Linked DNA regions of Homo sapiens: region 1 is linked to region 2. Evidence: promoter capture Hi-C in 16 types of primary human blood cells and fetal thymus (Javierre and others, 2016). All regions are on one chromosome and are shown on one strand. The core of a region is centred on a gene start or on the middle of the fragment in contact, and the rest is flanking DNA. Distances in the headings are between cores, read along the strand shown. Region 1 has its middle 4.8 kb from the start of ENOX2. Region 2 holds the start of RBMX2 (RNA binding motif protein X-linked 2).

Region 1 (4,250 bases), core at 1,176-3,675, 510 kb before region 2:
AACTCTGAACTTGGAGGCTTAACTCCAATTTCACACCAAGCCTTTAACCCTGGCCACAAATGAAGACCCTAATTCTATCCACAAACTGAGCCACTTTCTGGCCACACTCCAAGGTCTTAATCCTGATTAAATCAAGTCCCTAGGCCTAGTTACATACTGACTGTCTACATCTGGCCCAAGAGTAAGTACTTAAGACTGGTCCCAACCTGAATCTCTAACCCTGATCCCCTATTGAACCATAACTATGGCTACTGTATAAGTCCTTAATTCACGATACAGGGATCAAAAATAACATCAGATATAGCCCCTAAGTCTGTCCCCAGGCTGAGTCTCTAAACTAGGCTACAGACTGCATGACCTAACTCTGGGATATACTTAACATCCTGAACTGACCACAAAATGAGTGCTCAGCATAGATACTAACTGAGCTCTAGCCCTGACTACAGACTGAGGCTCTAACTTGGTCACAGCCTGAGATCTGATCTTGGAAACCAACCCAGCTACAATTTCCCAGACTTAGCACTAACCAGAAAATGACCCCAACATTGGCAACAGAATGACTACTAAACTTGGCCTCATACAGAGACGAAAACATGTACAGAGACCAGACTCTAAACTTGTCCCAACTCTGTGCCTTAATCATGGCCAAGAAGTGAAACCAAATCTTCCACAAAACTTGAGAATATTTTGACCACAGCATATGTCCTAATCCTGACTATAGACAGAACCCTGAACATGGCCACAAACTGAGTCTTAACCATGTTCAAAGCCCAAGTTCTAAACCTGGACAGAGACTGGGTTCATAAATCTGATCAGGAAATAATCTACTGATCCTGGGACAGACTGAGCCCTATCACTGGCCACTGATTTGACCCCTAAACCTTACAGCTTCTAACTGGTTACAGACTGCATCTCTAACTCTAGCCATAGACTGAATTCCTAACTCTCATCACAGACTGAGCCCATAAGCCTAACCTCTGACATGAGCTTTCAACCTGAAAATAAATCTGATTTCTCCAAATGGCTAATGACTGATCCTGAATTTTTGAGATAGACTGAACCCTATCTCTGGCTAAATGTTCACCCGAGACTGGATCCCAATTTCAACCACAACTTTAACTTTAACCCTGGCTACCGACTGATTCCTAATACCAGAAATTAAGCTGCTCACCAGCACTGGGCAGAGACTGAACCCAAACCTTGAAGATGAATGAAGGACAAACTAGACAAAGACAAAACAAATACTTTTCATTTTCTTGGCCTAAAACCCTGCAACAGATTTAATTCTAACCCTGAGCACAGACGGAACTCACCATGGCTAAGATCTGAGCCCTCTTCCTGGCCACATTCTGAATACTGAGCTGGGATGAAGACTGTAAGTCCCACCACAGTCTGAGACCTAAAGGCCAAGCCCTAAGCCTGGTTAGAGAAATGATTCCTGACCCTACAAGACTAAATCAAAATCCTGCTCATATTATCAGATCTAACAACAGGCTGAGACTAAGTACTCACCTTTGTCACATATCAAGTCTTAAACCCATAAACAAAGTTCACTGTATTAGTGGCCACAAACTGAGTCCTAGCACTAGCTGGAGGTTGAGCAATCAGTCTGGTCACAAACTTAGTCCTCAATTGTGAATAGATGTACCCATGGCACTGGGCACATTATGGTCACTAACAATTAGCAAAGACTGAACTCTACTACTGATACCGAAATGCCTGCTACACTAAGCCAGAGTCTAAGTGCCAGACTGACAACAGGCAATGAACACTCTGAACTCAAACCCTGGCAACATCCTGATCCCAAAACCCTGATTACAGCCTGAGCCTCTAAAGCTTTCAATCTGGATTTTATGTGTTGTTTGTTCTCATCTCAACTCTATCCACTGACTGACAAATAACATCAACAGCTAATCCAAAAAACCTGTTTACACTCTTAGCCTTAAAACCTTCTTCATAGTAAGCCTTACCTTGGTTATTGGTAACTCCCAAACTCTGGTACAAGTTTAATCAGATAGCACTACCACCAATACTCAGTGAACACAAATGCTACATAAAGTCATAGTGGAATTACTCCCTCCAGACTCAACTCTGATAGTGGTCAAATTGAAATGGCTAATACAGGTCACCGACTGAGCCCTGCTCTGGCCACAGAATGAGGGCCAACACAGGCCACTGTGAGTTAGCTCCATAGAACATTGTTGATATGAGCTATGGACAAAGACAGAATCCTGACACTGGCTAAAGTCAGAAACCACACCTTGAACTTACTCTAGCCAAATATGCATCCCAAATCCTGTTCATATTCATCATTGAAATCCTGGCCACAAACTGTATCATAATTTTGTCCATATATGAAATGCTAACTCTGGTTTGAGACAAGGCTCTAGGGCACATGACAGGTAATGTCCTAACATGGCAACAGACTGAATATTAGACATTGACTGTGCCTTACCATTGGCCACGGACTGAGACTTAATTATTGGACCCAGAATAAACTCTAACCATGAATACGAATTGAAACTTAACCTGAAGAAAGACTGAACATAAATCCTGTTCATATTCTTACTTCATTTTTTCCTAGGCAACATCATCAGCATGAAGACTAATCCCAGGCAGAGCCATGGTCCTGGCCTTTATTGACTTTCAAGTCTAGAAATGAAAGTGATTCCAACATTGATCAAAAACTAAAGTCAAACATTGAGCTGAGCCCTAACCTTGGGTGTGGTCTAAGTCTGGTCCACAGACTGAGCCCTAACTCTAATTTTAGAATGAGGCCTCTTCCTACACACAGACTAAATCCTAATTCTGGCCAAAATTTGAACCCAAATCTTGCACCTTGACTTCATAAACCAGGCCACTCTAGACTTACAGCAGCCTCAGAGTGAGCTTTAACACCCTGAGGCTGCTGTTAGTCCAGAGTGGTCAGAAATGCACTTTAATCTGTGACACAGACTGAACCATGGCTCTAAATCTGGGGCCTAATATTGCTATCAGGCTTAACCCTAAGCTTGGTTTGATGGTCTTCTGATCCTGAATCCACAATGGCCTGTAAAAACAGCTACAGACTTACTAAATCTTAACCTGAGAAAAGATTGAAGCTAAATACATTCCACATTATACACATGAACCCTGGCCTTGACCTGGGCTCTACACTGGCTCTGGATACAGCTCTAACCTTGACTTCCTAATTGTTCTCTGAATCCAGCCAGACTGTTTGACCCTGGGCCAGTATTTCACAAATTCATCTTATTATATAACAACAGACCAAAGAGTATCACGTTTGTATATACACATACAAATATATGTATACATTTGTGCTTATATATAATATATATTATATATAAAATTTCTGTATGGCTTATTGGAGATATAGATATGTTTTATATATTATATATAAAATTTCCATATGGCTTATTGGAGATATATATATGTGTGTGTGTGTGTATTTATATCACCATACAGAAATAGCCATACACAGCTGTGACATACACAGTAAGAAATATTACTTATCACAGCTATGTATTTTAATTATTTATCTTGTTTGTTGATGGCTTCTTCCTAACAGAATATAGCCTCCAAAGGGAAGGGATGTTGTATGTGTTTTCCACTTCTCTATTCCCAGCATCTAGAATAATGTCTGGCACATTATAGGTACTCAATAAAAACTTGTTATATTGATGAAGGAGTAATTTCTTCTTACTATTCTGTCCTGCTACTTGACCTCTCTGTAATATATGCCAGTAATTCTACTTTGTTTTCTCTTGGTTCATCTGTTTGGGCATTCCCTCTCAGCTTCCTTGGAAGGCATCTCTTCTTCTACTTGCTACTTGAATATCATTATTTTCCAGGATTCCATAATCTTTGTCTTTTTAAAAACTATTATTCTAAATACTCTCTAAATTGGCTGGGCACAGTGGCTCACGCCTGTAATCCCAGCACTTTGGGAGGCTGAGGCGGGTGGATCACTTGACGTCAGGAGTTCGAGACCAGCCTGGGCAACACAGTGAAGCCCCATCTCTACTAAAAATAAAAAAAAAAATAGCCAGCTGTGGTGGCAGGCACCTGTAATCCCAGCTACTCGGGAGGCTGAGGCAGGAGAATCACTTGAACCCAGGAGGCAGAGGTTGCAGTGAGCCGAGATTGTGCCACTGCACTCCAGCCTAGGCAACAGGGTAAGAAACCGTCTCAAAAAAAAAAATACTCTCTAAGTAAAGTTTAAACAATTTTTCACTTATTTAATTGCCCTC
Region 2 (4,143 bases), core at 706-3,205:
AATAAGTGGTTTTTGTGATGCCACAAAATGTATTACAGAAACAAAGTACTCTGTCGACTCAGGAGGCAGGAAATGAAAGGACACTTACTGTGAGAACACACAGATGATGTCCCCTTCAGTCAGTTCATAAGGAAGCCCTCCTAGAAGAGAAAACCACATTTCAGTTCCACCAACATTTACCAAGTGTTTACTACATACCACGCACTAGGCCAGGCACTAGGGGTGGAAACAGTAAGCAACAGGCCCTGCCCTTAAAGAAATCAAGTCTGGGCTGGGCACCGTGGCTCACGCCTGTAATCCCAACACTTTGGGAGGCTGAGGAGGGTGGATCACCTGAGGTCAGGTGTTCGAGACCAGCCTGTCCAACATGGCGAAACCCCGGCTCTACTAAAAATACAAAAAAAAATCAGCCAGGTGAGGTGGCGGGCACCTGTAATCCCAGCTACTCAGGAGGCTGAAGCAGGAGACTCGCTTGAACCCAGGAGGCAGAGGTTGTAGTGCGCCGAGATCGTGCCATTGCACTCCAGCCTGGGCGACAAGAGTGAAACTCCAGCTCAAAAAAAAGAAAGAAAGAAAGAAATTAAGTCTGACTCAATGACAGAAGTACATGTAAGGTGCCAGTAGTACAGAAAAAGGAGTAATTAATTTTGAGTGGAAGTCGGGGTCACCACTAACGAAACTAATCTGATCACTCAGTCCTCCTGCCACCCAAAATCCTATGGACAAAGCAGATAGTTTCCATCACAAACCTCTGCTTCCACAAACATGTTGAATTCATCTGCTCATTACCCACAAATTTACAGCTATGATACAAAATCAGTCTACATATGTCATGATTAACCCCACCTACACATAGACAAAGGTTATAAAGACACTGTTAAGCATTTCCTAGGGAATAATTTCCCCTCCAAATATTTATTTCCTCATTTGTAAGATGGGGATATTAGCACGTAACTCGCAAGATTATTATAAGAGTTAAATAAAACGATGTATATAAAGTGCTTAGCACAATGTTTGGTACAATAACCTCTTTGAAGCATCAAACTTGTACAATTACTGATTGTGATATAAAGTGAATACAGTAATGGTAACGTGGCCATGGACTAGAAAGCAGGAGCTAGAGGAGCAAAGTGAATTCTGGAAGGGAAGGGGAATGGGGGAGGGTGGTGGTAGCAATATGGAGCTGTGGCTAAGACCAAGAGTTCTAGAATGCTATAGTTCTGCCTGTTGCGCTTACTAGCTATGTGACCTTAAGGAAGTCCCTTAACTTCTCTGCACCCCAATTTCCTCAGCAGTATAATGGGTCAGAGGGTGAGAGAGAAATAACAACAGTCCCTGAACCTTAGCACAGCAAATGGCAAACAGTAACTCTCATGAGCACTGATTTGGCAGGGAAGGAAAACTAAAAATGGGGCAGAAAAGAGATGTAACACGGATTCCCGGGCAGACAGCAGATGGATATGAAGGTGGGCGATGAATGTAAGCAGGAGTGAAGGGTGAAAATGCCGAAATAGTCGGAAACCGAGCAGGAGAATCTGGAGAGCACTGAGGAAGAAAGATGTGGACCTCACCCAGGAAGATCCAGGCGCTGTCCTTGTACTCGGAGTGCCAGGACACCTTATCGGCCACCCCAAGCTGGACCTCTCGTTCATTCAGCTCGTTGATCAGCTTCACCTTAGTTAAAGGGCTTCACGGTGGCGGGGGGGGTGGGGAGGGTAGGCAGAAAAGCAGACAAGTAAGTGCGAACCGGCCGGAGCTGAGGAAGAGCAAAACTAGGGGACGAGCTGTTCCAGTCCCCGCGCCGCTCCCGCCCCTCGGCCCCGCAGACGCTCTACCACACCAGTCCCGGTGGACCACCCCCAGTGGCCCGCTGCTCCTTCCTCAAAAGGAAGCTGACGCCTTACTTCATCTCCTCGGGTTCGCGCTCAGCACTCAGGAATCAGCGCCCGGGAAAGGCAGCGCAGCGCATGCGCGGCCCCGGCGCCAGTGGCCAGTCGATTCGGTGACCTCGCGCCGGAAGAGCCGGGGCGTACCGGGGCGTGGCGCCTGCGCACTAGCAGCCTTCCGCGCTGCGTGCGGTTACCTCTTGGAGAGGTGGTTTTTCTCTAGTTTTTCGCTTTTTCTTCTCTGTGAAATGGGGTAAAGGCACAAGCCTGGGCTGTTGCAGGACCCCCACCTCTTGAACGATATCTGAAACTGGTTAGATTAGCTATAAATATTTGCTGAGTGAACGGAACAAGCAGCCTGATGTGGCGACTTTAGTCTCAGCCCTCGCTCCCAGTCCAGAGTCCCACTTGGACCTTCGCTCCTAGTCAGTTGCTAAAGCACAGACCCATCAAAGCATCCCTGTCATGGCAGAAAAGTGAAGAAGATAGGTGAAAAGGTAAATCTTCTGTTGTCCTTATCCCAATACATAGGCAACAGACCAGTGTGCTTCTATAGGCTGAATCGAATACCTACACATTTGCATGAGAACTGCTGCACTTACTCTTTTCCATAGGCTCTCTCCTAGTTGAGCAGGAGGCAGAAATTAATATTGTTAAATTAATAGCTAACAATTGAGCAGATGATGTACTATACGATGCTAGAGTATGTACTAAGCAATTTACATGTATTGTCTCTCCACCCTCACAACAACCCAATAAAGCAGAGAAAATTACAATCCCTAGCCGGGCACAGCAGCTCAGCCTGTAATCCCAGCACTTTGGGAAGCTGAGGTAGGAGGATTGCTTGAGCTCAGGAGTTCGAGACCATCCTGGGCAACATAGCAAGACCCTGTCTCTAAAATAAAGGGAAAAAAAGGGGGGCCAAGTGTGGTGGCTCATGCCTGTCATCCCAACACTTTGGGAGGCTAAGACGGGTGGATCACCTGAAGTCGGGAGTTCAAGACCAGCCTGGCCAAGATGGTGAAACTCTGTCTCTACTAAAAATACAAAAATTAGCCAGGCATGGTGTCACACGCCTGTAATCTCAGCTACTCAGGGGGCTGAGGCAGGAGAATCACTTGAACCTGGGAGGCAGAGATTGCAGTGAGCTGAGATCGCACCACTGCACTCTAGCCTGGGCAGCAGAGTGAGACTCCTTTTTATTTAAAAAAAAAAAGAAAGAAAAGAAAAAAAATTTCCACCCTCATTTTGTAGAGGAAGAAATGAGGCTCAAAGGAATAAATTAACTTGAAAGGTACTCTACCTGCACCCGTCAGGTCAGGTTGATTTAATCAGTCCTTACTGAACATCTAGATTTGTCCTGTACAGCTAAGGTCTGTAGACAGGAGTATCAGGGTGGGTCCTCTGCCTTCAAGGAGCTAATATTATAATTAAGGGGACAAGATATATTTGCTTGATAGATTTCAACCAGAAATATCTAGAAACCAGTGGAAGAGATTATTAATGTATAATATGTGATTTAACCCATATTGACAGTTTGAATCCATTTTGCATGTGTCCACATCAATACCTGCTCTTGGACTATGATGTTCTAAAAGTGAAAGTCCAGAGCTGTGCGGCCTAACTCAGAGCACCAGATATTAGGTCCTTCATAAAAGCATTTTGATGATGATAACAACTGTACCCTCAAGTGGCCCACCATGTAACCAATGTCCTGCCAAGAAGGAGAACAGAGGCTGCCCACCAATGACAGTTCCTCCTCATTCATTCTGTGTCTGTTCCCCCCTCCCCATTCCAACCCAGCTATTCATTAACTTTGTAAAATTATCTTGGCAATGAAAGCTAAACAGTGACAGATTGCACATGGGGTTTATCTGCTCCTAGGAATCTCAGGTTGCTTAGTTGTGGGTTGAAGTAGCCATTGCAGAGTGGTAAACTAGCATGCAGCATTATCTTGCTGACTTCTTCAAATGGCTGTGAAATGAGAGAGTTAAGACTATACCTGGGGATTAGTCATCAGTGTTCCGAGAGAAGCTGGAGCAAAAGAGTAGAATAAGACCAATTTAGATTGAGAACATGAGAAGGCTATTATTACTATGCAGCTGGTAGGTTCAGCAGAGGTATTCTGAAGGTGAGAGAGCTGAATATTGCTCCAGTTTTCCTGGAACTGAGAGGTTTCTGAGACTTCTGACTTTTGGAGCTAAAATTGGCAACCCCAGAACAAACCATGATGGTTGATCACCCTAGGAGATCCTGA

Evidence for each region. Contacts are between HindIII fragments. The CHiCAGO score rates a contact against its expected background, and 5 or more counts as called.
Region 1: a contact is called between a fragment that was not itself captured here and the fragment with the promoter of RBMX2 in region 2, in 5 of 17 cell types (M1 macrophages, endothelial precursors, erythroblasts and 2 more). The highest score is 9.0, in M1 macrophages.

The regions. Positions count from the first base shown.
Region 1 is chrX:130,905,908-130,910,157 of GRCh38, reverse strand. No RefSeq gene overlaps it. Among named protein-coding and RNA genes, the nearest start is that of ENOX2, 4.8 kb to the right of the region's middle. The HindIII fragment of the contact is 1,174 bases long and covers 1,839-3,012 here.
Region 2 is chrX:130,399,799-130,403,941 of GRCh38, reverse strand. RBMX2 (RNA binding motif protein X-linked 2) reads right to left here and starts at 1,955. Exons shown (of 6, transcript NM_016024.4): 1 at 1,905-1,955; 2 at 1,572-1,687; 3 at 89-140. The coding sequence starts at 1,909. The HindIII fragment of the contact is 29,468 bases long and covers 1-4,143 here.